Linked DNA regions of Homo sapiens: region 1 is linked to region 2. The links are contacts of gene promoters, found by promoter capture Hi-C in human tissues and cell types (Jung and others, 2019). All regions are on one chromosome and are shown on one strand. The core of a region is centred on a gene start or on the middle of the fragment in contact, and the rest is flanking DNA. Distances in the headings are between cores, read along the strand shown.

What was found. The method cuts DNA at HindIII sites, captures the fragments that hold promoters and counts their contacts. A contact is called where the count stands out against the background at its distance.
Region 1: a contact is called between a fragment that was not itself captured here and the fragment with the promoter of NFATC4 in region 2, in 11 of the 25 tissues and cell types used here (H1 embryonic stem cells, IMR-90 fibroblasts, aorta and 8 more).

What each region holds. Positions count from the first base shown.
Region 1 is chr14:24,433,423-24,437,119 of GRCh38, reverse strand. It overlaps KHNYN (KH and NYN domain containing), which reads right to left. Exons shown (of 8, transcript NM_015299.3): 6 at 941-1,048; 7 at 631-732; 8 at 1-84. Among named protein-coding and RNA genes, the nearest start is that of KHNYN, 5.3 kb to the right of the region's middle. The HindIII fragment of the contact is 4,482 bases long and covers 1-3,608 here.
Region 2 is chr14:24,366,882-24,370,413 of GRCh38, reverse strand. It overlaps NFATC4 (nuclear factor of activated T cells 4), which reads right to left and starts at 2,230. Exons shown (of 10, transcript NM_004554.5): 1 at 1,974-2,230; 2 at 1-915. The coding sequence starts at 2,073. LOC124903291 (a long non-coding RNA gene) reads left to right here and starts at 1,029. Exons shown (of 2, transcript XR_007064085.1): 1 at 1,029-1,167. RefSeq lists an enhancer at 1-429 and silencers at 1,392-1,771, 3,490-3,532. The HindIII fragment of the contact is 13,574 bases long and covers 550-3,532 here.

The DNA.
Region 1 (3,697 bases), core at 118-2,617, 68 kb before region 2:
TTTTCCTCTTCTCTCCCCTGCTGCTGTTTACCATGTTCTGCAAAGCCCCTGGAAGGATGCTGAGCCTTAGAAGACCCCTGTGTCCTGGGAAGAAACAGACCAAAAAGAGCTGATGAGCATCCTGGGGGGGAAATTAGATCTTAGTGGGCACCCCTCTCGTAATTGTCCTGCCTATTCCTGGCTTTGGGGGAGAAATCCTGAAGTTCCTGAAGCTGACCACTGAGTGGCAGTATCAACCCACTTCTGAAGGGAAGATGGGCCGTTCTTTTAGAAACAGGGTGAACTCTGCCACTATTATGATCTAGTTCTAGTCCTAAATGAATCACTTATGTAATGGTCAGCAGAAGGCATGCTGAATACAACTGGCTGTCAGTATAAGCAACCATTTTCCAAATAACTCCATCAAACATGCTGATTAAGAGAAACAGGAAGCAGGTGTTTCCCTCCCAGCAAGGAGGTTCTATGTCAGGATCCCCTGGGAAGCTTATAAAGGCCAAGGCCAATGCAACTCAAACCACTGCAAAATTAAGCTGGCCCAAACTGAGGTCACACTTCCACCCAAGTCTCTGGGCCTGCTGAGAGAGGGCCAGGGGTGGGGGCTGCCTGTAAGTAGTCTAGGGGATTGATTACCTGGCTGGCTTCTTCAGAAATTCATCCAGGGTGGGGCCGTTTCGCCCCAGTGGGTCATCAGGTACCATGAAGAGGTTTCCCACAAAGGTAAAGGGCAGCAGGCTGGATGGCGAAAGATAATGTGTGGTCACAGAGGGGGCCCTTGCCCACCTCCCAGACAACCGAGACCAGTATCACCAGAAGCTGCTGGCTCCATCCTTCAAGAAAACTTCACCTCCTTCCCAGAGTTTTCACCCCATGGCCAGAGCAGAGCTGGCTTTAGAAAAACATCTGCATCTGTGCCCAGTTCTCAGCGGGAGGGCTCCCTCACCGTTCTCTGATGATTGCCATCCACTTCTCAGACTCCTCCGCCAGGTCCCGGAACTGGTCATTGGAGACAATTATCCCATCTGTCTCTTCAGCCAGCTTCACCATGAACCTGTCTCCAAAACCACAGCAACCGAGAGAGGGTTGAAAAATTACCTACTGGGTACAATGTTCACTGTTTGGATCATGGTTACATTAAAAGCCTAGACTTCACCACTATGCAATATATCTATGTAGCAAAACTGTATTGGTATCCCCCAAATCTACAAAAATAAAAGTAAAAACCACAGCAACCATTTGGGACTCTCCAAGGCCCCAACCCCAGAAGTTTTACTGTCTCCCATAGGCCACTTCTGGTGATGGAGATCTGGCCCCCTACCTCACCTTGACCCAGCTACAGGCAACTGACTAGATGCAAGTGCCATGGCCTAGAGAGGAAACAAAGATGAATCCAAGGTGGTCTCCCAGTAGCATCCTATCTGCCAACCATAGTCCTTCACCCAACACTTTGTGCCTCGTTAGTAAACAGTAAGATCTAGCTCTGTCTTCCACCCTGCCCAACCAATCCCTTGCAAATCCAACATGCCTTTCCTTTGAAAAGCCTTGTGCTCTGCTCCCTTCCTTCCCAGGCCCACCATTACCACCCCAGTAATTCAGATATTGCAACTGAGATTATGCATAACCTCCTAACAAGGGGGTCCCCGCCTCTGACCACTCACCCACCCTCCAGTCTCCCCTGCCCTGCCCCAAGAAAGCATGCTTATCACCTACACAAAACTCTTCCACACTTGCCCTTTATTTACCAAATAAAGTCCACACACCCAGGCCTGGCAGCTAAGGCCTTCTACAGGCCAGCTCAAATCACCCTTACAGCCTTATCTCTCCCAATATTCCCTAACCCACTCTCAACTCCAGCTAAAATCAATAATCAGATTACACTCTGCTCTCCACATATGTCTTATGCTGACTTCCATATTTCTCCAACTATTTCCTCTATCTGGAAGGCACTTCCCAAGACTTGCTAAGGAACAGAATTACCAAGGGAACTTTTTTAAAAAATGCCTGGGCTCCATTCAGTAATTCTGATTCCACAAGACAGGGTAGGACTCATGAAGTGATGGGTGGTGGTCTTTTTAACAGATTTAGAAACAGAGATCCAACCCATCCCAGTCTTCTCAACACAAAAACTCACAAATCTCTCCTTTCCCACAAAACCCCAGCCAGAATGGGGCTCCTTTCCCTCTGAGTTCCTGTAGTGTTTGATTTATGGTTTCTTTCGGCTCTCTAGTCAAGAATCAGATCTTGTTCCCAGTGTTCCCACCTCCTCCTGCAGGCCATGCACCTAGTACTAAGTGAGCAGTCAGTATTTGAAAGATAGTGTGGTATAGGGGGAACTGGGAGTCAGGATTAGGTGTGACAGATATCAGGCTCTGAGCTTCTGTCTGGGAAACAAATTAAGGGAATGACATACAAATGTCTATGGCCGGGCTTGGTGGCTCACGCCTGTAATCCCAGCACTTTGGGAGGCTGAGGTGGGCGGATCATGAGGTCAGGAAATCAAGACCACCCTGGCCAACATGGTGAAACCCCATCTCTACTAAAATGCAAAAAGTTAGCTGGGCACGGTGGCATGCACCTGAAGTCCCAGCTACTCGGGAGGCTGAGGTAAGGGAATCACTTGAACCTGGGAGGCAGAGGTTGCAGTGAGCCGAGATCGTGCCACTGCACTCCAGCGTGGCGACAGAGCAAGGCTCCGTCTCAAAAACAAACCAAAAAAAAATTATATGGTACACTTATGGTATGCAAATGGTATTTTCCAGTTAAGCATATTTTACTATGATCGCATTACACAGTATGTTGTTCAGCAACATTCATTCCGTATGCCTACGCTGTGTACCACTGTGCTTATTCACTGTTACTGGGCGAATTCCCAATTTATATTATGTTATCTGCCAACCAGGTCCCACACAACTGGGCAGACACATGCCTTTAACATTCATTAAAACGAACTCAATCTTCAGTTTCAATTCTGTTTCAATGCAGGTGTGGAAAGAAGATTCCATATCTTGGGTAATCTGTGACATCTAGATATAAATAGAATAACATTGGGAGAACGTAAACTGCTTTTTTGTAGAATACCATTTGCTTGTTAAGGAATAGAAGGTAAGTGTTTGAAAAGACAAAGTATATAATCACTATGGTTTGGAAAAACTAATTTTTAAAAACTGTATAATGTCCTAGAGAATAAAGAACTTGTAAATTTTTTAACTTGGCTTTCTAAAATCTGCTCATTTCTCACACCACCTAGGCAGACTATGGTAGAAGTGTGCCTTGTATTTTCATTCAAACCATCTGGCAGCTTTGAGGTCTAATTCCCCTTTGCTAAGACAGGTAACCACTCTGACCCTCTGTCTCCACGACTGTAGATTGGAGATATACCCGCTGCCACACTTGAGTAGGTCTGTGCAAAGTTAGGATGGAATGTCACTGTACTCTTGCCTAGCACCTTGAGCAAGGCAAGCACATACCTTATCTTTTTCGTATATTCACAAGGAGGGTAAATGAATGGAGGAGGACCCTGAGACAAAGAGGTTAATTCACTAAGAAAAGTTCCACAGTCAAAGTCAATGAGTAGTGCTACTTGAGGCTCAAATTCAGATCTTCCAATTCTAAATCCAGTGATCTTTCTATTATACCATGTTTTGTACAGTCCTATTATTCATGCGTTGTGTTTCTCCATTTTACTTGTTATTTTGACCTT
Region 2 (3,532 bases), core at 981-3,480:
CTGCCTGCTCGCTGGAAGTCCGCCGTGTCTTCTGAGGGATGCTCTCAGCTGGTGGGGCCCCCACATAGTCAAAGGGACCAGGGGAGCCCGGGTCCCGGGCCAGAGGCAATGGGGGTGGTGGAGGTGGCTCAGACCCCTCTTCCCCCAGGCTGCCACGGCGGGACAGAGCTGGGGAGGCTGAAGATGGGGTTCCCGAGCTGGAATAGCGCCGCTTGCCACATGGAGAGGCAGGCCGCGGGGAGGCTGGGGTGGGCCCAGGAGCACTGAGGAGTAGCCAGCTATCCTCTGGCCCTCGGCCTCCGGGGCTTGGACCATACAGGCTCCAGGGATCTTCGGGGGTCCATGGCCGAGGGGAGGCCCGGGGCGAGGGCAGCGGGGAGCCCAGGCCAAAGCGGGAGGCCGCCTCATTTAGCTCAGACTCCACCTCGTCGCAGGCTGCATACAGGGCTGCCTCGTCAGAGGCATCGGAGAAGAAGCTCCACGAGGACAGGCTGCTGCTGCCAGGGCTTGGGCTGAAGAAGGCCCCCCCACCCTGGCCCCCTGCTTCTCTGTAGCCCCCAAAGCCTTCTGGTGGGGGGTAATCTCTAGGAGAGCCGTCCCCCCAGGCATCAGGGTTGTCCTCCAGCGCTGCTGGCGGCTCCGGCGTGGGAGAGATGGAGGTGATGCGGATGCTGGGACACTCGAGAACACGGCCACCCCCAGCACCCCCAGCACCCCCTCCTGGTCCTCCCAGCCTCACCGACCTGGCGGGCTGGCTCTCCCAGGTGCCAGGTGAGGGGGCTGGTCGCGGCGGTGGCGAATGCATGCCAGGCCGAGGGGGTGGAGGTCGGGGAATACCGATAGGTGCAGCGCCATAGGGAGGGGGCTCTCCCAAGGCCAGACGGCAGCATGGCGGGGCATCCTCTGAGTCCAGTTCTGTCAAAATGGGAAGAGGAGCAGAGGGAGAGGGGGAAAGAGAGAAGCAGGTGAGATGGCTATGTTCCTTGAGTGGCCAGGCCGCAAGTCCTTCTATGCTCCCTGCCCCTCAGCAAAGAGACCTTCTGAGCCACAAGACAAAAGCAGAGTTGGACCTGGGAAGATGGAGGAGATTGAAGCAGGCATGCCAGGCCTTTGCCCACTGGCCCCTGGATCCTAGGACCGAGGGTACCCGATCCAGTGGGTCTTAAGGTGAGAGAGGTGGGTCCAGAGGGGCTGGAGCTGGGGCTGGGCCTGGAGGCGTGTTTCTTGAGGCACTGGGCTGGACTGGGGGCGACTCACACATGAACCCAATTAGCAGCGGTTCCCAAACCCCCAAACGGCGCTGGCAGGAGCCCCAGTTGCCATCGCAACCGTGGCCAGAGGGGAGGGGGGCGTCAGGGCTGTGGTGACGAGGGGAGGTGGCTCCTCCCTCTCTCCTCGCCATCTAGGGGCGGAGGTGCAGCCGAGGGGGTGATGCGTGCTGGGCCCAGCCGGGGGAAGGGGGGCAGCGGGCAGCGCGGATTCGTGCGAGCGGCGGCCGCCGCCCCCGGCTCGGTCCCCGCCATCTGCCTCTCATTGCGGCCAGACGGGGGAGGGGGAGGGGCGCCCCAGCGAGGCCTGACAGCGCCCCCAGCCCCGGGCGTCCAGTCGGCCGGGCCAGAGCTCGGTCCGCCAGGGGCCAGCTCCAGCGCCAAACCTCCCCTTCCCCTGGCGGCGCCTGGTGCTGTTGGGGCCGTAGTTCCCGCCCGCCCCCCAGTTCAGTGACAGGCGGCCCAGCCGGGAGGCGGCGCACAGCCAACAGCACCCCCACCCCCACCCCAGTCACGACCTAAAAAGGAGAAAGTGGTGCCCGGGCCCCCAGCCTCACTTCCGCAGGCCAACGAGTCCCCCCGACTCCCTTCGACCTCTGACTCCCTCACCCCCCACCCTAGGCTCGCTGCCTTAAATTCCCCAGACTCAGGATCCCCGGCCCTCCTCTCACTGACCCCAAGACCCCTTCCCAGCCCAGCACTAACCTTCCCCCAATCCCCCCGCGCCCAGCGGGGGGGCCTCCTTTTCCTCCCCGAACACCAGCTTAAATTCCAGCTCCTCATCCTCGCAGCTGGCCGCCCCCATGGATCCGGCAGGAGCCCCCAGGTCCCGGCCTGGGTGGGAGGGGGGAGTTCAGGAGGCTGCTGTATCTTCACCCGGGTGGCTCCCTCCCTCCCTTTCTCTGAGAAGCCCCCTCCTCCGTCGCTGCCGCCTCCCTCCAGAAGCCCCCTCGTTATTATAGAAACTTTTCCAAACTTTTTTCCCCCAAACTTCTTCAAAGCGGTCCCCCCCCCAGCCTGTCCCTGATTGGCTGCCGGGGATGCTCCAGCCCCTCCTCCAGGGATGAGATGGGAAAACCACGCGCCCCTCGTCCTCCCCCACCCTCCCTCCCTCTGTCCTCTCTTCAGTCCCTCCCCCTCAAAAAAAAAAAAACTGAATTGGAAAACGGTCCTTCAAGAGTGATACTAATGTTGCCTATTGGTCCGCCGTTGTGACAATCATTTCCCGCAGAGAGCCCAGCCCCCACCTCCCCTAGTCTCAGTTCAAGGTTCTGGGTCCGAGAGCCTTAAAGGGGCCACATCCTGGGCCCCCAGGGTAGAGAGCCCACGGAAGACCCTTTTTTAAATTCTGAAGACTGTGTAGATAGCACCTAGCAAGGCAGAACCACTTCTCCTCCCCTTTCCCTCCAAGCCTGAGGCCAGGAGGGTCCTGGGGGCAGAGTGGCACCGAGTTGCTCGGAAGAGGAAAAGGCTATTCTTCCGCCTCCCTTGCCTGGGGCTACTCTGCCCGGGCCTTCTGGAAGTCTTTGCGCTGCCGAATCAGCGCCTCCATCAGCCATTCCTCCAGGACCCCCAAAGATGAAGAACGCTTAGCCAGCCTGGATGCCTCTGGGAGCAGTCCGAGCCAAAGAGGCTTTGAGAACTGTCCCTAGGCCCACAGCCCTTGATGGGCGTAGATCCAGGCCAGGCTTTGCCGCTGCCCTTGTCCCAGCCACCCAGAGGGGCCGTGAATTAGCCTCCACGGGAAGTTGGCAGCCTCCTCCCTAGAACTGTAGTCTGGAATGAATCTCTGACCCGATAGCATCCCACTCCGGCTCTTCTAAAAATCCTTGCCAGGTTTACTAGGGGCCTGAAACCTCCGGACCCTGTGGGTTCCCCTCCTCTTCCCCCTCCTTGGCCCCCCCGCCCCCAACAGGCTGGACACCTGTCACCTGGGCTGGAGGAGGAAGGAAGACCTGGACTGGAGTTTCCGGGAAAGTCAGGCTTGGAGAGGCCTGGGTTGTGTGAGAGGGAGTTAGATGGGAGATTCGTGACTCGGTGGGAGATACTGGCGAGGCTGGCGGGTAGGAGAGATGGGAGGGTGGTTATCATTTTCTCCCACACACACACAGTTTCAACCTCTCTTAGAGGCCGCGTCTCCAGTCTCTAAATCCCTCCGGTTCAGGGCCGCACCCCCAACGCCGCCCCATCCCAGCAACTAAACGGTTAAGCGACGGCCCCAGGTCAGACGTTTACAAACACTCAGAAGCCGGGCGGGGACCGCG